2 separate regions of the Homo sapiens genome follow, and region 2 is linked to region 1. The links are contacts of gene promoters, found by promoter capture Hi-C in human tissues and cell types (Jung and others, 2019). All regions are on one chromosome and are shown on one strand. The core of a region is centred on a gene start or on the middle of the fragment in contact, and the rest is flanking DNA. Distances in the headings are between cores, read along the strand shown.

Evidence for each region. Contacts are between HindIII fragments. The study calls those that stand out against the background at their distance.
Region 2: a fragment that was not itself captured here is called in contact with the fragment with the promoter of LBP in region 1 in 1 of the 25 tissues and cell types used here (spleen).

Annotation. Positions count from the first base shown.
Region 1 is chr20:38,343,413-38,347,972 of GRCh38, reverse strand. LBP (lipopolysaccharide binding protein) reads right to left here and starts at 1,491. Exons shown (of 15, transcript NM_004139.5): 1 at 1,333-1,491. The coding sequence starts at 1,456. RefSeq lists an enhancer at 3,438-4,215. The HindIII fragment of the contact is 17,182 bases long and covers 1-4,560 here.
Region 2 is chr20:38,210,055-38,214,173 of GRCh38, reverse strand. KIAA1755 reads left to right here. Exons shown (of 14, transcript NM_001029864.2): 14 at 431-3,671. The coding sequence ends at 1,132. Among named protein-coding and RNA genes, the nearest start is that of TGM2, 47 kb to the right of the region's middle. The HindIII fragment of the contact is 7,984 bases long and covers 1-4,119 here.

The DNA.
Region 1 (4,560 bases), core at 242-2,741:
GATTTCCCTCTGCCTGTCTCGAGCCAGTCTGGGCTCCCAACAACCCTATCTAAGGGAATGTTGTTATCTCATTTAATAGGTAAGGCAATTGAGGCTCTAGGGATGTGAGAAGACATGTGGTCAGTGCCTGTCCATATCCTTGAGTCTTTCCAGTGAGTGACAGTTGACTCCCAGCTGCCAATGTCTGCCTCCCTGAGCCTGTATGTCCCGAGGCTTTTTGTCCTGGAACTGCAGAAAGCAGGTACATGCAACAGGACAGAAGTGCTGGGGAGTTGACAAACCCCCGGCCCAGAAGCCCTCAATCAATCACTGTGGTGTATAAATATCCCAGTTCCCATGCCACCTGGATAGTCGGGAGGCTTTGTTTCAGTATTTAAAAAAAAATACTCCTACTTTTGCTCATTCTTTGTTTTATTTTTATTTATTTTTTTGAGACAGTCTCCCTCTGTTGCCCAGGCTGCAATGCAGCAGCATGATCTCGGCTCACTGCAACCTCTGCCTCCCGGGTTCAAGCGATTCTCCTGCCTCAGCCTCCCAAGTAGCTGGGATTACAGTTGGCTGCCACCAAGACTGGCTAATTTTTGTATTTTTAGGAGAGGCGAGGCTTCACCATGTTGGCCAGGCTTGCCTCGAACTCCTGGCCTGAAGCTATCCACCCACCTCGGCCTCCCAAAGTGCTGGGATTACAGGCGTGAGCCACTGTGCCTGGCCTGCCCATTCTTTAAAATTGAGGAATAATATACATAAAGTACCTAACGGGCACAAATTTTAAAGGTATTGCTAAATAATTTTTAATGTTTATACAGGAATGTGATCACCACCTGGATCAAGATATGGCAACTTCCAGCACCCCGGCAGACCTCCCTCATGCCCTTCAGGGTCTCTGCCTGCCTCTAGAGGTGACCACAATTCTGACTTCCAGTTCAGAGGCATGTGTTTCCAAACTTTACGCAGAATTTTCCCAGCTGAGTGGTTCCCATCATCAGAGGTGGTGGCTGGTTTAATTGCACACTCTCTCCTGGCTGCCCTCCCTTCCTCATCTCAGTACCGATTCCCTACAGTGTTTCCTGGAATCATTTCCCAAATCAACTACTTGCACGCAAAGCTGTGTTCTGTTGGCTGGTGGAGGACCTCACTACCACAAATAACATGCCCAGGGCACTCAGCTGGTGGGCAGTAAGGCCAGAATAGGAGCCAGAGCCACCTGACCCAGAAGGTGGCACTGCCCCAGGGAGAGGGTCCGGTCTGTGTCCCCACTCCCTGTCCCCACTGTACCCAGAGCAGCCTGGAGCGTGGGTTTGCCAAGTCCAGCCAGCAGATGTGGCTTCTTACCATACTGCAGTCCCTTGTCGGTGATCCTGGCGACCAAGCCGGGGTTGGCACCCAGAGCCTCTGGGGTGGACGTAAGCAGCAATGCCAGCAGTATGGACGGCAGGGCTCTGGCCAAGGCCCCCATCCTAGATTCCCAGTGCAGTGGGCCAGGACTGTCCCAGCTGTGGATTGGGCCCAGGTCCCTTAAGTAGCCAAGGCTCGATGGCTGGGGGCAGTTCCTGAGGCTGGATGGGTTCCTGGGAGCGGGAAGGGGAGGCACAGGGACTGGAACCTGCTTGCGACATCACTGAAGTCATAAGGTCATACTTAGAAGCCAGTTTTCACTGCCCAGATCAGTGGATGAGGAAGCCTGACTCCTATGATCATCCCTGTCCACCCTCCCCACAGAAAGACCCCATATTCATCACTGTTCATCTTGCCTCATCTCAGCCAGTCTCTTAAGAGCTCGGCTAGGAAGGCCTGGTTTAGCAGATGAGGAAACTGAGGTTCAAAAAAGCCACATAGCTCCCTTGAGATCTCACCCCCAGCAGAGGGCAGGGTTGAGAGTGAAGCTACATCTGGCACCAACCAAACTCTCTTTTTTAAAATATATTGGCTCGTTTATTTAAAAAATAAATGTTTCCCCCAATGGGAAAACAGTGTTTCTCAAACCTTGCTGGTGGTGAAATTTTCTGGAAGGCAATTGGCAAATGTTTAAACAGTTGCATGCCCTGTGACCCAGGAATTCAATTTCAGGGACTTGCCCTTAAATACATAATTGAGTCAGTGTGCCAGTAAATCACTGCTCCAAGATACCACTGCTATGCTGTGGGAAACAGGACAGGAGAAGTGAGACCCAACCTCATGTATCCACCAGAAGGGCATTGGTTAAATGAATTATGACATGCCCCTTAAAGTGAGGCTGCAGAAATAAAGGTATTTCTTGGCAAGGAAAGGGATGTCATGAGGCATCCGTTTCCGATGGCACCATAGAGTAAGGTTCTATTTTGGGGGGTTCAAAATAGGCTTCTATGTTCAACAATCTGGAAAATATTTAGCAAGGAGTCATGAGGCATTGTCTCTGGTTGTGGGGGTAGAATTATAAGTGTTAAAAAAGTTTTTGCTTGTTGATACGTACAATTTTTTTTTCTTTTTTCATTTTTTGAGACAAAGTCTACTCTGTTGCTCAAGCAGGAGTCCAGTGGCATGAACATCGCTCGCTGCAACCTCAACTTCCTGGGCTCAAGTGATCCTCCCACCACAGCCCCCTAAGTAGCTGGGACTACAGGTGTGAGCCACCATGTCCAGCTAATTTTTTGTATTTTAGTAGGGACGAGGTCTTGCTATGTTGCCCAGGCTGGTGTCGAACTCCTGAGCTCAAGTAAGCCTCCCGCTTGGCCTTCCAAAATACTGGGATTATAGACTTGGGCCACCATGCCCAGCCTCTAAAATTTTTATTTTCTTGGGGGTATGGTCCCGGGCATATATTCGCAGTAAGTAAAGATAGTAAAATTTCATTCTGGAAAACAAAATTTATAGTACAGACTGTGTTTAATTTTTAGAGTTTTGCCCCAGCCCTGCTTACATTTGTGAGTTCTGCTTTGCCCTCACCCCCAGGAAGCCTTCCCTGACCACTCCCATGCTTCTCTGGATTCTAGAAAGGGTCCCCTCTGAGGTCCCAGAACCCTTTGCGCTTTCCCCACCACAGCATTAACCACTCTGCTTTTTGATAATTGTGGTCCTTTAAAAATATGCCCACGAATTCTTTGATATTCCTTCCATCAAAAGGTAATGTTTCTGCCCCCTTCCCTTGAAATTGGGCAGGTTTTCATGATGGCCTCAACCAACTGAATGTGGTGGGATTAACAGGGTGACTCCCAATAGGTCACAAACAGCACTGGCAGGCACTGAGGTTAAGATCAGAATGTCCCACGTTAAGCACAGGGAACCCCACAGTCCAGGCCTCTCTGCTCCTCTGTACCGTGTTGCTCCTGTCACTGGGGCTGAGGTTTGTTGGGATCCTCATCCGTCCCTCCCCTCAGTCCCCACACCACCAGTCTGATGGCTCCTTGCAGGCACGGCTGAGTCTTCCATTTCCTGAGATCCTTGCAGCACCCAGCAGAAATTGGAAAGAAACTGATATTTATTGAGCACCTACTATGTGCAGGCGCTGTGCTGGTTAAGCTGCACGTCTCCTCTCATCCTTGCATCAGCAACCCCAGGTGGATATTTTAGTCTTGTCTTGAGATGAAGAAACTGAGGTTTGGCAGGGTGAAGTGATGTAGGCTGCAGTCACCCAGCAGGAATTTAAGTCCAGGTCTGCAGGATGCCATTCCAAAACTCTGGTCAGGGCAGGGTTCTCTTGGGAGGCAACAAGCTGAGCAGAGGCCTCAGGGTAAGGAGCCAGCCTTTGGGAGGCTTTGGAGCAGGAAAGGGCTCACAGGTGCATCCCCAGTGTGCCTAGGGGCCTTTGCTTCCTGGACCTCAGCCTGCCCAGGAGGGGAGGAGAGTGGGGGAGGACATTCTGGAGCATAAGGATCTTATGGGGACATAGATGTCACTCTTCCTCTGGCAGCAGTTTAAGGATGTCCCTGGCTGGGAGTCATTTGCAGGGGTGGGAATTTCCCACAGCAGCAATCTTTGGACCTTAGAGCTGCCACATGGCCCAGGCCTGGCCTCCACCCCTGCAGGTGCCCACTGCTGGCTAAGGTCCCTGCTGATGGCCCAGGACCCAGCAGAGGCCTCAGGGAGCAGCACGACCCCACTGCTGGTCAGAACCCCTGGGCCTTTCTCCTACCAGGCTGTCCATCCAATTCCACAAAAGCAACAGCTGCTACCACTCTGGCCACCACTCAGTCTTATTGCAGTGAAATAGGGACTCTTTTAACAAGGCTGTTTATTGTGTTCTTGTGCAGGAGAGGGCCCCCAGAAATGGCAGTGCATCAAATGATGGACAGGCGATCATAAAACTGTCCCTCTGACATGATAAGTGGCCACGAATGGCGCCAAGAGGGAGAGGAGTTCCCTAACAGATAGTTGACATCATCTGGAGCCAGCAAACCACAATTCCCTGGTAAGGTCGAGCAGAAGGGCAAATGTTGGAGTCTGACTTGTATATGACCTTTTTCTTGCGGCGACGGACCAGTAAGGGAAAATCACCCCAAGTGAGCATGCGCACAACCTTAGTAAACACACTGCGCATGCGGCCCCTCCCAAGTGCTGGCAGGCCATTGCGCATGCAGGGAGGGC
Region 2 (4,119 bases), core at 1,170-3,669, 130 kb after region 1:
TTCGAGACCAGCCTGACCAACAAGGTGAAACCCCGTCCTACTAAAAATACAAAAATTAGCTGGGCATGGCAGCAGGTGCCTATAGCCTCAGCTACTCGGGAGGCTGAGACAGGAGAATTGTTTGAACCTGGGAAGCAGAGCTTGCAGTGAGCCGAGATCACACCACTGCACTCTAGCCTGGGTGATGGAGCGAGACTCCATCTCAAAAAAAAAAAAAAGGTGTCTGATGATTCTAAGGGTGCTTGGGGGCTGTTTCCAGATGGCAGGTGTGTGCACCCCAGGGAAGAGAGGGAAACCAGGGTCATCATGGTCAGTGGAGAAGATCATGGCCAAGCTGAGCGGGGCCCTGGCATTGGGCACTTATTAATTCAGTCCTCCATGGTCCCACTTCCAGCCTGAGCCCCCACCTCCCTCTCTTCTTGTCCCCCAGATGACCTGGTTCCACATGGACTGTCAGGACCTGATGGCCCAGCTCAGGCTGGACAAGACCTCAAGGGTCAGTCCTGGGGACCAGCGCCGCCTCCACCGCTACCTGCAGCGACTGGCATCTGAGTTCCCTGCTGAGAAGCTCGCAGCCGTGGGGCTGCAGGTGGCCTCCCTGAGCCGGGCAGGCCTGGGCCAGGAGCTATGGGAGGAGGCCCGGATCAGGCATGAGGAGATCCGGATGCTCCTGGAGAAGGCACTGACCCACAGCTCTTGCCCAGAGGCTCCAGCTGCTCACTCAGCGCGCCCAGAACGAAGAGGGGTGGCAGCCAAGGGCCAGGGTGTGAGTGTAGAGGTCACTTCCAAGGGGAGGTGGGATCAGCCTCCACTAGACTCACTGGGCATGGACCATTTGCCAAAGTCCTATTGGCCTCCTGGGCCCCCCAGAGGGGAACAGAACAGAACTTTCCAGGCAGGCTCTCCACCCCAGGAAGCTGGCCAGGCTGCAGAGGCTGAAGACGGCAAAGGCTCCCACAAGCTGCCTGACCCTGCCCGCGAGCATTTGCTTGCCACCACCTTCTTCCGGCAGCAGCCCCCCAGGCAGAGCCAGGTCCCTCGCCTCACTGGGGGCAGCTTCTCCTCAGAGGGGACAGACTCACAGACATCCCTTGAGGACTCACCCCAGACAAGTCCCCTTGCCTCCCTCTAGCTGAGAGGCCCCTTCAGTCGCACCAGCCTCCAGGAGCACTGGGCCAGGGCCCAGCTGGAGGGGTAGCTGGGAGCTCTGGTCAGTCCCAGTGAGACGTCACCATGGAGCACTGGTTTTACATTCTGCCTCTGCTGGGAGGATGAGAACTGTCGACCTGCCCCTGGCTCCAGAAAACTCCTGGAAGACCCGATCTTCACCCATGCAGAATAGCAAGAGTGGGCGTCAGAACCAGGGCACAATAAATGGTGTGATTGGCTCCATCCCTCCAGGCTCTCATTGTGGAAAGACCTGTCGGCACAGACCCCTCCAGAGGTCTCGCTCGCAGGCAGGCAGACACCCACCTGCAGCTCAGGAACATACACAGCTCTCCCCTCGGGTACGAGGGCCAGTGTTGCCCTTAGGCAGAATCCTCGGGGAGATTCGGGAGTGCTTCCTTGTCTTGGATTCCAGGAAAATGGACCCTGAGATGAGGATTTAAGGATCAGTGTGTTTGGTGCTGATCCAGGAACCTCTGCTGGGGGAGTAGGAGGCGAATCTGCAAAGGGAATAAAGAGTATGTTGTCAAGCAAATTTTCTTTTTTTTAATTTTTAAAACTTCATTGTATTTTATGTTTAGAGATGGGGCCTCACTACATTGCCCAGGCTGGTCTCAAACTCCTGGGCTCAAGTGATCCTCTTGCCTTGGCCTGCCAAAGTGCTGGGATTGCCTTTTCCGCCCACCCCCCCCGACCCCACCAGAGACAGGGTCTCACTCTGGTGTCCAGGCTGGAGTGCAGTGGTGCAATCATAGCCTTAAATTCCTGGGTTCAACCAATCCTCCCACCTCAGCCTCCTAAGTAGCTGGGACTACAGTTATGCACCACCATGCTCAGCTTATTATTTATTTATTTTTTGTAGACATGGGGTCTTGCTATGTTGCCCAGGCAGGCTGATCTCAAGCTCAAGTGATCCTCTGGACTCAGCCTCCCAAAGTGCTGGGATTATACGTATGAGCCACTGTGCCCCACCCTCATACAAATTTCCATGTTGGCAACTGTAGCTGGATCTTTCTGGAGATCTCTGAAAGACAGCATGGAATCCTTGAACACCCCCTGAGGCGTGAGGCATCCAGAGCATTTATCTGCCAACCCTCAGGAGCTGGCACTCGTAGACAGCACGCACAGCCAGCTCCATTGGTCTTGGCAAAGAGAATTGCCTCCTGGAGCCAGAGGCCGGTTCCTGTGCTTAGAAAGGAAGGACATGTCTTCTGTGCTCCCTGTCTCACAAGGCCTCTTCAGCAGGCATGGGACCTTCATTCTCAAGTTCAAGGAACCCTGTGGAACCTTGTCCTTGTCCTCCAGAGAGAATCCTCTCCGCCTTAGAGGTCCCTCCTCTCTCTCACCTCCCCACCAAGCCTCCCTGAACTCAATGTCTTCTGTCCCCTTCCCTGCCCAACTTCCACTTCTCTATGCCCAGCCTCTGTGGCCCAGTACCATTGGGGTTCTGTGGGCAGCTGGGTCCTGGTGGTTGGGGACCGTGGGAAGGGGCCTATCTGTCGGATCTTAGATGGAGCATCCAGAAGCCCCACCCTTCATACTGGCCAGAGTGGCCCCTGCCAGCGCCTCTCTGGAGTGTCATTAAGCTGAAAGTGTTTGCCTTACCTCTGCAGTAGGATGCATTACTGAAGTGGCCTCTTGGTCACCTAGCTCTGAATTTTCCTGGCTCCAGAAAGAGGCTGTGGGGCACAGGTCCCCCACAATGAGGCTGTGAAGGGGAGAGAGGCAGGCCTGGGCCAGGCACAGGAGGACAACTAGGGCTTCTCAGGAGCTGTCTCAGCCAAGAGTCACACACTTGATACCTAAAATGGCTTCAGGAATCTTCCAAGACTGAAGACTTCCCCAGGTGTGGTCTAGGGCCTGCCTGCCTCAGAGCCATGAGCAGAGCCGGTCAAAAGGCTTCCTAGGGAATCCTACCCCAGACATTAAAATAGACTCTTGGTGCTGGCAGGTGGCTGGAATCTGCGTTTGTAGCCAAGTGCTCTTCCTGTGTGACTCAGCAAAGTGGGGGTGCATTTGGGGAACACCCGGGGCTGGGGCCTGAGTCCTCCACCCAAAGCCAGGTTTGATTCTTGCATTCCCCTCCCTGCCTTCCATCCAGACAGGCCCAAAGATGCAAGAGGCGTTGATCAGCCCATCTCCATCCATGCCTGTTGCCTCAGAGAGGGCCGACGGCTTTTAAAATGCTGTTGCCATAGCAACAGCATCCAGCCAGTGGGTACCACAGGCAGGGAGCCACAGAAACTGGGGTGCTGGGATGGAAACTGACTTGTGAGAGACCACAGCTACTGCTAGAAGGAAGGGGGGCAAAGCGGGCACAGGTAATCTAAGAATACTTGGGCGGGAGGAGTCCCCAAGGTTACCTTGTGCATCCCTCTGTCCCCAGAAAGAACTGTACCCCAACAATCTCTCCCCTCACTGCATCCCCTGGGGAAGAAGGGAATGCAGAAATGAAATGTCATAATGAGTAACAATGTATAAAAATATCGAATAATAACAGCTAACATTTCTTTTGCATTTTCTTTGTGCCTAGCTTTGAGCTAAATCCTCTAAAAGCTTTACAGGGCTTGTTGAATTTTTTTTACAACATTATGAGGACTGATTCCACCCTATTTTACTGAGGACAAAGCTGAAACTCAGAGAGATTTGGAGGTACCTTGCCCAGTGCCACAGTGAGGGGCAGAGCTGGACTTGATCTGGGCCTAGTTTATTGACTTTGCCCAAATATGCCCACAGTAGGGGCATGGCATGGCATGGCCTCCCCCAGAGATTCCCTGCGAGTGATGACATAGCTTTGAATCAGCAAAGCCTCAGCCCCTGAGAGACTGCTCTGAGGAGGCAGAGGCCACAGTGCCCCTCCATGGGATTTTTAAACAAAGTTTGAAGCCTGCTGTGGTGGAAGAAGATGGGCTTTCAAGGAACCCCAAGTCAGCCAGTGATGTGACTGTCAAC